Linked DNA regions of Homo sapiens: regions 1 and 2 are each linked to region 3. Evidence: promoter capture Hi-C in 16 types of primary human blood cells and fetal thymus (Javierre and others, 2016). All regions are on one chromosome and are shown on one strand. Each heading gives the region's core, a stretch centred on a gene start or on the middle of the fragment in contact. The rest is flanking DNA. Distances are from core to core; before and after follow the strand shown. Region 1 overlaps ERG28 (ergosterol biosynthesis 28 homolog). Region 2 has its middle 39 kb from the start of FOS. Region 3 holds the start of JDP2 (Jun dimerization protein 2).

Evidence for each region. The method cuts DNA at HindIII sites, captures the fragments that hold promoters and counts their contacts. A CHiCAGO score of 5 or more calls a contact.
Region 1: a contact is called between a fragment that was not itself captured here and the fragment with the promoter of JDP2 in region 3, in 1 of 17 cell types (activated CD4 T cells). The highest score is 5.4, in activated CD4 T cells.
Region 2: a fragment that was not itself captured here is called in contact with the fragment with the promoter of JDP2 in region 3 in 1 of 17 cell types (monocytes); the score reaches 5.9 in monocytes.

Annotation. Positions count from the first base shown.
Region 1 is chr14:75,651,518-75,654,783 of GRCh38, reverse strand. It overlaps ERG28 (ergosterol biosynthesis 28 homolog), which reads left to right. Exons shown (of 5, transcript NM_007176.4): 4 at 2,895-3,013; 5 at 3,150-3,266. The coding sequence ends at 3,229. Among named protein-coding and RNA genes, the nearest start is that of ERG28, 7.7 kb to the left of the region's middle. The HindIII fragment of the contact is 7,207 bases long and covers 1-3,266 here.
Region 2 is chr14:75,238,335-75,241,518 of GRCh38, reverse strand. No RefSeq gene overlaps it. Among named protein-coding and RNA genes, the nearest start is that of FOS, 39 kb to the left of the region's middle. RefSeq lists an enhancer at 3,169-3,184. The HindIII fragment of the contact is 384 bases long and covers 1,065-1,448 here.
Region 3 is chr14:75,426,611-75,430,118 of GRCh38, reverse strand. It overlaps JDP2 (Jun dimerization protein 2), which reads right to left and starts at 2,097. Exons shown (of 4, transcript NM_001135048.2): 1 at 1,867-2,097. It overlaps JDP2-AS1 (JDP2 antisense RNA 1), which reads left to right and starts at 2,464. Exons shown (of 2, transcript NR_184172.1): 1 at 2,464-2,649; 2 at 3,408-3,508. RefSeq lists silencers at 1,449-1,618, 1,679-1,858, 2,109-2,378 and enhancers at 2,044-2,601, 2,569-2,628, 2,649-2,978, 3,229-3,328. The HindIII fragment of the contact is 6,934 bases long and covers 677-3,508 here.

The DNA.
Region 1 (3,266 bases), core at 195-2,694, 230 kb before region 3:
TTAGCTTAGAATGTGAATAATAAAAAACTCACAGGTTACATTCCCTCCAAGCCTAGAAAACATAGTAGACCTAACAGGTCTTCATTAAAGTCTGAAAATTCTTTGGAACTGACATAGCAAACTGGCAGGCCATTATCCAGTGGCCTGCATCATGCCCCTCCACTTCTTTATGAAAGAATCAGCCCTTCTTCTACTAAAGAAGTAGAGTGGTATGCTCTTTTTAGAGTAGCCACCCACACATACCTTTCTCACATTCCTCCTTAAGAAGCAGGAATGAACAGAAATCACAATCCATGAAAAAAGAGGAACCCACAAGTAAACTGTTGTATGTGTATGCAGCATCAGCAGGTGAGGGTGAAAGAGAAGCTAGGGCTCCTGAATCTACCTGTCTTGGGTACTCAAACAGACCAGGGTGGAACAATTGCAGGCAATCAGAAGCCATAACCAGTGCTGGCCACTAGAGGGGGCTCGAGCTTTCTTCCCAGCGGGAGTCATCATCACACTCTAGGTGGAAACAGTTTGTTCAGGTCACCGAGGGAGGCTATCTGAATGCCAACTTCACATTAAAATGTTTTTCTGTCTTATCCAGGCTCTTGGCATCTGGGGAAAACAGGAGGCGATAATATTTATTGAGCCCCTCTTATTATGCTGAGCTTTTATCTACGTGATCTTGATTAAGTCTTTTCTTAGCAGCCCTGGAGGTCATGATTTTCATTCCTGATTTTGCACATCTAAATATTAGAGATACAGTTAGTTTAAAGAAAGACTGACTCAAGTGAGATTTGAAGCAGGGCTATTAGCCGTTTGATCTCTTCAACCTTATTTTTTTTTTTAATTTTTTTTCAAACTTGAACCTGCAGTTTACTTGTCCTAGAATGACACATACTTTTGGAAGCAGTGTGTTTAGTTCTGGGCCCAGTTCTGTTGGTAACTAGCTTTGCAGTAGCAAGTCCATTATTCACCTTCCTTGCACCTTGGCCTCTTCATCCATAAAATGAGAATAGATATCTGTTCTACCTCTCAGGGTGACTAAGAGGAAGGGAGGATTGAACAATCATTTTAAAGACCTGTACCACAATGAAGAATTGCTGATGAGTATGAGGGATATATCTTTTGATTGTTGTGCTTTTGAAGTGAGCGAAGACAACCCAGACTTATCTCTTTTTTTTTTTTTTTCTGAGACAGTCTTGCTCTGTCACCCAAGCTGGAGTACAGTGGCACAATCTCAGCTCCCTGCAACCTCCACCTCCGCCTCCTGGGTTTAAGCCATTCTCCTGCCTCAGCCTCCCCAGTAGCTGGGATTACAGGCGCGCACCACCATGCCCCTCTAATTTTTGTATTTTTAGTAGAGACAGGTTCTCACCATGTTGGCCAGGCTGGTCTCGAACTCCTGACCTCGTGATCCACCCACCTTGGCCTCCAAGGTGCTGGGATTACAGGCTTCAGCCACTGTGCCCGGCCTGACCCAGACTTATCTTTACCTCAGTTACCATTTACTTTCACCTCTCCCCACACAGGACAGCTGCAAACGCTGACTCCTGTTTCTAGACCTTTCTAGCCTAGGACTTTGATCGATGCACTTCTGATGTGCATTCTGATCCTATTCCCTCCCTAACTAGAGACTGAAAGTCAACACACATACATATTGTTTCCACAATGGGCCAGGCGCGGGTGGCTTCTGCCTGTAATCCCAGCACTTTGGGAGGCCAAGGTGGGCAGATCACTTGAGATCAGGAGTTTGAGACCAGCTTGGCCAACATGGCGAAACCCCATCTCTACTAAAAATACAAAAATTAGCTGGGCGTGGTGGTGTGCACCTGTAGTCCCAGCTACTCCAGGAGGCTGAGGCAGGAGAATCACTTGACCCAAGAGGCGGAGGTTGCAGTGAGCCAAGATTGTGCCACTGCACTCCAGCCTGAGAGACAGAGCAAGAGTCTGTCTCAAAAAAAAAAAAAAAAAAAAAAAAGGTGTAAAAATATGCACAGGAGAGATACAAATCAAATGTAAGATACCAGTTACTTGTGGGGATGAGGGAGAACAGACTTAGAGCAGGATAAGTATACACAGGATGATTTAACTCTTCTCTGTAAGTTTTTATTAGAAGAGTCTGAAACAAAATGTCAAGATGTTAAGATCTGAGGGAGCTGGGTGTTGGTTGCATTGGTGTTCATTATAGTGTTCAGTAATTTTTTTGTATGTTTGAAGTATTTCATAATTTTAAAAAATTTTATACTAAAAAGATATCAGCAAACAAAGTGGTCAGTCACCTAGTAGCCTGTCTCTTCTCTACCTTATAGTCAAAGCTGAAAGATAAGTTCTTTTCCCATGAGGTTGTCACCATGTCCTCAATGTGACTACTTTTCTAGGCTAAGGCACAAAGTAACCAACGTATATTGCAAGAGCATCTAAAAGCCCCAGAGGTGTCCTTGCTCCTTACTCCCCATGAGGCCGTTCGTTCTGTGGCATCCATCTTATAAACACCGACAAGTGCATGGCCAGATGCCTGCCAGGTGGGATTAGACTGCAGAGTCAACCAATTTGGATAAATAGAATATGTAAGCGTGCTGGATCCAAAGTTGTCTACACTGCCTGCGATTGTCATCATTCAGGCTCTGCTTTGCTATAGCTGAGTTCACCACTTTGCTGAGACCTGGACGTTCATTCTGGATGCCTGAACCATTCTCCTCTCAGTTTAGCAGTTGAAACCTTCAGTTTTGCCCTAGATGAGAATATCGTTGTGATCAAATAACCAGCTCTTCCTCAGGAACAAGTGTCCTTTCTTTTAAGTCTTAATGACATCCTGGGTTCTTATTTGTCTGTATGAAGTCTGATACTTTTCCTCTGTTCTGAACAAACAGTAACTTTGGTTCCCATTTCTGTCTGCTTCCTTATAGGCTCTATCACATCACACTCTGGACCTTCCTCCTTGCCCTGGGGCATTTCCTCTCTGAGTTGTTTGTCTATGGAACTGCAGCTCCCACGATTGGCGTCCTGGCACCCCTGATGGTGGCAAGTAAGCATCCAACCACCCTAGACCTCCTACAGGAGCTGTGCCAGCTCTAGAGCTAGTACAGAGGGTGGACACAGGAGAGAGAGAGAAGAAAGGTACCGTATGTATGTTAGTCACTAGTCTTTCCTCTGTATTTAAGGTTTCTCCATCCTGGGTATGCTGGTCGGGCTCCGGTATCTAGAAGTAGAACCAGTATCCAGACAGAAGAAGAGAAACTGAGGCCAGCATTATCACCTCCAGGACTTTCTCGTTTTCC
Region 2 (3,184 bases), core at 7-2,506, 190 kb after region 3:
AACACAGTGAAACCCCGTCTCTACTAAAAATACAAAAAAATTAGCTGGGTGTGGTGGCAGGCGCCTGTAGTTCCAGCTACTCGGGAGGCTGAGGTAGGAGAATGGCGTGAACCTGGGAGGCGGAGCTTGCAGTGAGCCGATGGTGCCACTGAACTCCAGCCTGGGCGACAGAGCGAGACTCCGTCTCAAAAAAAAAGGAAAGCTAGGTCCTACTTTAATAAAGCCTAATAAATGAAGATGTAAATATTAAAACAGATGAATTAAGTGGTGATTAACTGTCTTGTAAAAAATTGCTTTGTGTATATAGGCAGTATCAGGGATTTAATTAGTCTCTCTCCATGCATTTGAACCTGATTTATAGCATGAGGTCTCTTTTAATCCTATCTCCACTTCCTCAAAGATACTGATGTCAGCTACCACCAGAATTGCTGAGCTGAATTCCCTGACCCAAGGTGGCTCGGTTTAATTCAGTCAAGTATTAGGCATTCAGCCTGTTGAATCCTCTCCTGTGCCCAGATCCCTAAGGCCAGCCTCACCCAGGGTGTGGCCTGGGCAGAGAGGGCAACCCGCCCGTGGGATGGAGCTGCAAGGTTCTGATGGTCTTCGTAGAATCACAGCTGGCTTGGCAGTTTCTTGGCAGTTTCTTGACCAAGCGGGAGACATAGATGGAGGCATGTTGTCTTCCAGGAAGGACACGGAGGTCCATATAAAAATTCTCTACTCTTATCCCACAGATGCGTGGTGGCATGGGAGTGCGGAAAAGGCAGGCCCCGCCATAGATGGTGGGAAAACCGCTGGAAAGATGCTGATCCATGGTGGCTGATCACCATGGTGAGATGGGTACCATACTAATGGTTCCATCCTCAACAGTGCTACCTGCATGATACAACTGTGGGCAGGACAGGCCAGGTCTATTCTCTGCCCTTCTGTTTGAGGCTTTGGAGACAGACAACTGCAGGCCCACTGGTTTTACTCATGGTCAGACTTCCCAGGACCTGGCCTTTCCTCTTCAATGTCACTGTCATTTCCCACAAACCCTATCCCTCACAACATTTGAGAAAGCTTTAGTTCAAAAATGTGGCTTCTTCCCCTATTCATTCATTCGGCAAAAACTTATTGGGCAGGCTGAGCAGTAGGCCCAGTAAGGAAATGCAGTCTTGGCTGGGCGGGTGGCTCATGCCTGTAATCCCAGCACTTTGGGAGGCTGAGGCAAGGGATCACTTGAGGTCAGGAGTTTGAGACCAGCCTGGCCAACATGACAAAACCCCATCTCTACTAAAAATACAAAAAAAAAAAATGAAATGCAGTCTTGTCTTGTAGAACCCCAGGAAAGATTGCAGAGCATTCAAGCACTGCAGCAAGGGTGAGCAAAGATGGAGTAGAAAGGGACCTGATCCAGGTGTGGAGGAGTTAACACATCCTGCTTGAGTTGAGGCCTGAAAGAAGCTTTGGAATTTTTCAGGGGAAAAAAAGTGACAGGAAGGGCATTCTAGGCAGATGGAATGGTGCATGCTAACACACAGAGGATGGGAGAGTTCAGCACATTTAGCTTTAAGGTGCCAAGGACAGGATACCGTAGCTCATGCCCATAATCCCAGCAATTTGGGAGGGTGAGACGCATGGATCACTTGAGCCCAGGAGTTAAAGACCTGCCTGGGCAATATGGCAAAACCCCATCTCTACAAAAAAAAAAAAGTGGAAAAATTAGCCAGGCGTGGTGGCACATGCCTGTGGTCCCAGCTACTGGGGAAGCTAAAGTGGGAGGATGGGAGGATCCCTTGAACCCCGGAAGTCGAGGCTACAGTGAGTCGAGATCACGCACTGCATCCCAGCCTGGGTGACAGAGTGAGACATTGTATCCAAAAAAAAAAAAAAATGTGCCAAGGAGTGGAAGGAGGAGAGGGCTGGTGTGAAGGGTTGAGAGGATTGCAGTTTGAGCTGAGCCAGAGAAATAAGCAGGTCCCAGGTTGCAGAGGGCCTTGTCTACCTGGTAAAACATTTAGGTTTTCTCCAGAGAGAGAAATGAAGGGCCATGGAACAGGCTTACCCAGTGGGATCACAGGATTTGTGTTTTAGAAAGGACACAGACAGCATGATGGAGTGGCATTGGAAGGCAACAAGCAGACCACTAAAGAGCCAGAATGGTGAGCTCCTGCCCCCAGCCATGGTGGGGGGAGGACATGAGTAGCAAGATTCTGCCTAAATTAATTATTAATAAGCGACGCAGTGATTCATCTATACCTTCCCCATTCCTAGCTTCATTTCCCCATCCAGCCCCTAGGAGCCCTGACTTTGATTCTAGTCCGTTTCTGTTTCCTTCTTCCCTTAGCTGCCCTCTTCACTGGAATTCTCTAAGGTGCCTGTTCAGCCCTATGGAAACGGCTGCCAGATTCTTCTGTTTTCTTCATGGAAAGCTCCCAAGTTTTTCTCTCCAAAATCCCTTAGAAGTGCTTTGGCCAGTGGAAGAGAGGGGTCTTCAACGTCTTTCAAAGAACAGCTAAGAAATAGTGGCTCAGTGAAGTTGCTAGTTATGGGAACGCCACCTGCTGTGGGAGCTGCCAGTGACGGGAAGCCCAAATCAGCAAGATGAGCCCCAGCCGCAGGCCTCACATTCTGGCAGTCTCCACGAGCCAAGAGGTGTCCATGCCAAGTCCTCATTCCCATGGTGATGCCTTATGGGCTCCATCATGTTAGCCAGAATATACCCTGGGAGATTATACCTGGGAGACACGTAGCTCAACAAGTACGGAACATGTCTTCCCTGCTGGTATTGGGGGGACAGGATGAATATCTGTCTGATAAGCTCACTGAGATATGTTAGGCTTGTTCCCTGTGAATAATTTATATTTTGAGAAACCTAGTACTTTCAAATTCATACAATAATGAGCTGTGTTATATTAGGATTCTGTTGTATGTTCACCTATCAAAATTTATACCTTAAATACTCACACTCAATATGGGGAGATACAAAGATAATTTAGATATCATATATGATTAACTATAGAAAACACATATCTTTTTTTTTTTAAGAGACAGGGGTCTCACTATGTTGCCCAGGCTGGTGTCAAACTCCTGGGCTCATGCAATTCTCCTACCTCAGGTTCCCAACATGCTGGGATTACAGGTGTGGGTAACCATGCCTGGTCAGAAAACACATATCTTAACACAATACACGATAATCACA
Region 3 (3,508 bases), core at 848-3,347:
AAACCCAGGGAGTCAGGAGGAGCATTCCCTGGTAGCTGCAAAAGTTAGGCAGTGGATGAGTGGGGAGACCCTTATCCAAACCCTTCCTAGGGGGCATTGTCACCACTTTGCAACACATCTCCTTGGAGGTGGCTGCAGCCAACCTAGGAGAAAAGCCAGAGGTCTACACACCCATGACTTCCTGCAGCCCACCTAGGAGAAAAGCCAGAGGTCTACACACCCATGACTTCCTGCAGCCCTTCAAATCACACAGCACCCAGCTCTTCAGGAAGATTCTGGAGCTGCCTGCAGCTCTGAACCAAAGCCAAAGTAGAAGGGAACAGAAGAGTCTTTGAGAAATCCATCCTCCCTGCTCTAAACAAGGCAAAACCTTAACCACCCAGAGGTGTGAGAATAGATTTTGCTTCTCTTCCTCGATCCTCAGGTTTATACAAAATCAGAGCCATGCTCACACCTGATACCTGGTTAAACTCTCCCCTAGAAACCTGCAAAGGAAGATAAGCTATCCATCCAAGCTGCAGCCAGATTTGCTGGAAAGGTAAAAGCAATGGGAAGTGTTTTTTAAAACCCTCAGGGAAGGAAGGTTGGGGGGAAGGGAGATGATACGCGAATGCAGTTTCTACCAAGGGCTTAAAGGACGTTTGGGTACAAATGTACCCAAACATGGTTCAAAGCTTCCCAATTCCTGATGCTCCTCCAATTAAGACCCTAGGGAGAGACCACCAAGATTTAAGCCTGGGTACACACGCCTAAGCAGGCTGCAAGCCCTTTCTGAGATATAGACCTGAGCACATTTGCCCTGAGCACACGTGGTCGGGCCATAGCCCCATGCCCTGGATTCCAACAGGGAGGGCAGCACCCTGGGCAAGGGCCACGCCATCTTGCAACTGGAGATGACCCAAGGGGGTCGGCTGATTTCTCCTTCCACCAGCCTCTCCATCCCTGCAAAAGAGCCAGGACCTCCCCATCTTCCCCAGCCTCCTCATCTTCCCTGCTCCTCCTACTGACCCAGGCAAAGCCTGGCTCTGCCATCCCAGGGTCCAGGGATCCAGGTGGAAGGCCCAATCCACCCCTACACTCTCCCACCCCCCACTGCACCCCTACCCCTCGACAACCTCCTTTGAAGGGAGGAGCAGAGGAGAGCCTTCTAAGCTGGGCTGGGCAAGGGAGAGGCTGGTTACCTACAGGAGCCTGCTTGCCTCCTTATATAACCTGGCGTGGGAGACAGGAGAGCCCAAAGGGGACCCCGGCCACCCCTAGATCCCCTCCCAGCCCAGAGCTCCGAAGCAATGGCCATGAGAGAAGCTGCCTTCATTGGATGGAAATCCCGAGCCCTTCTCAATACTCTCCTCCGGGTCCGGGTCCTCCGGGAGTCGCGCTTCCTCACTGCCAGGAGGTCCTTGTCATCCCTCCACAATCTAACCCCGACCCCAACCCCGCACCTCCCTGGCCCTTCACCCTCCACCTCCACCCGCACAGCCCATCTCCGCGGGCACTTTTCTCCCCACTCACCCCGCCTTCCCCGCCGCCCGAGGAGAGCACCTCCCTGCAAACGGACGGGGGAGGAGAGCGCGGGAGGGAGAAGGAGGGAGCACCCCGGCTGTCCAGGGAGCGGACGGAGCCTCCCGTCCCGGGGCGGGAACCAAAAGGAAGCCTCAGGCTGCCGGGCGCCTCGCGGGAGGGGCCCGGCTGCAGCGCCCGGCGCGGGGAAAGCTCGAGGTCCCTGGGCTGCGGGAGCCTCCCCGCGGGGCTGGGCTGGGGCTCCTCGCGCTCCGCCCGTGCGGGGGCGGCCGTCCCAGGTGCCCGCGCCGCGCCCTGCCCCGCCCCGCCCGTCCCGGCGCCCCCAGCGCGCGCCCTCGCACCCACCGTGCAGAAGGTGCGGGGGGAGGCGGCGCCCCCGGGGCCGGGGCCCGGCTGCAGGCGCCGTGCCCGCTCCGCGCCGCTGCCGCCCGGCCGCGGAGCTCCGCCCGGTGCCCAGGCCTGTCCCGGCCCGGGAGCCGCCGCGGCGCCAGCCCCGCCGCCGCTGCAGCGTCCGCCGCCGCCAGCGCCCCCCGTCGCGGCCGCCGAGCGTCCCTCCCGCAGGCTGTGGCGGGCGGCGGGACGGGTTGCATCAGCCCCGGCTATATAGCGGCCCCTGGGCGGCGGGGAGGGGTCGGGAATGCGGAACCGGCCGAGCTGCCAGCTCCAGACGTCAGAGGGGGACGGAGAGGAAGGGAAGGAGGGGACCGGGGAGGAGGGGGTGTGGAGCCGGCGCTTCACACCCACTGACCTTAACCTCCCCCGCCGCCTTGGGCGCCCTCCTCCCGCGGCCGCTCGCGCTCCTCTCCCCGCGGGGGCGTCCCGGGTTCCATGCAGTCCCCCGGCTCCGCCACCCCACGGTGCAGGAGCGCTCGAGAAAGCAGGACGCGGCGAGCGGTTATGTAAGCGCACCCCCCGCGCACCGCCGCCCGGCTTGTGCCCGCCAGGCAGCAGCAGCCGCAGCCCTAGGAGAGAGACGCGAGAGGCCGGAGCCGGGGGAAAAGTCAAAAGCCCCTTCACGCACAGCCTGTGTTAACCATGTACCTCAGTCCCGGCGCTTCCCCCACAAACTGAGAGCGACAGGGAGAATTTCCGCACAGTTTCATCCTTGGACACTTCAGGACTGAGCGGGTGAGGAGGCGATCTCGCCAGCCTGCTTTATTTTTCGGTGGAGAAGGATGGGCTGAGATGAAGGCATTTGGGGACTCCTACCCCTACCCACCGGCCCCCGCCAGCGCCCTTAGGCCCCGAGACGGCTGGCTGCACCAGCCTGACCTCTGCTAGGGCTGCAGCCTGAGACCGCGGCTTGCTCTACTGCTGGCGCAGTTTGACCCTTGGGCTTGTACCCTGCTCCAGCGGGCTTCTCCTTTCCACTCCGGACACAGCAGTGAGCAGACCCAGCCCTCAGCAGACCCCAAGTGGCCTTCTTCCCCGTTCCAGCTTCAATAGCCAACCCCACTCCCACCTTCCATCCTTCTAGAGAGGAAATGGTGAAGGGGACTCCAGAGGGAAGGCGACATCCATGGTGCCCTCCAGTATACAAAGGCAGAGACACAGAGCCCTCAGGTAGAACGGGGTTCCCTAGATGGCATCTCCTACCTCCAGAGCTCCTGGGTACCCATCGAGCCCCCTACCTTCTGCCTAAGCCAGATAGGAGTGACGATTTTTATACTCAGCGACTTTCGGCCTCCTTCTGAGAGTGATGTCAGGTCATCACCCATAGAAGAAAGGAAGTGAAAGAAAAAGTTCATGCCTTCTTGGAGTGCAGATGCTCAGAGTGAAAGAAACAACAAGACTTGAGACAGATGGGTGCCATTGAGCAAACCCGAACATGCATGTCTCTCTCATGTGAGTGAGTGCATGAGACTTTATTCTCCTTATTTCCCCAGTGCAGTGAAATCTTTCTGGATAAAAGAAGTGGGCTAATGGAAGGAGAGACAGACCAAGTCCCAATGACATTGCCTGACCATTTTCACCTTCGCCATCAGCA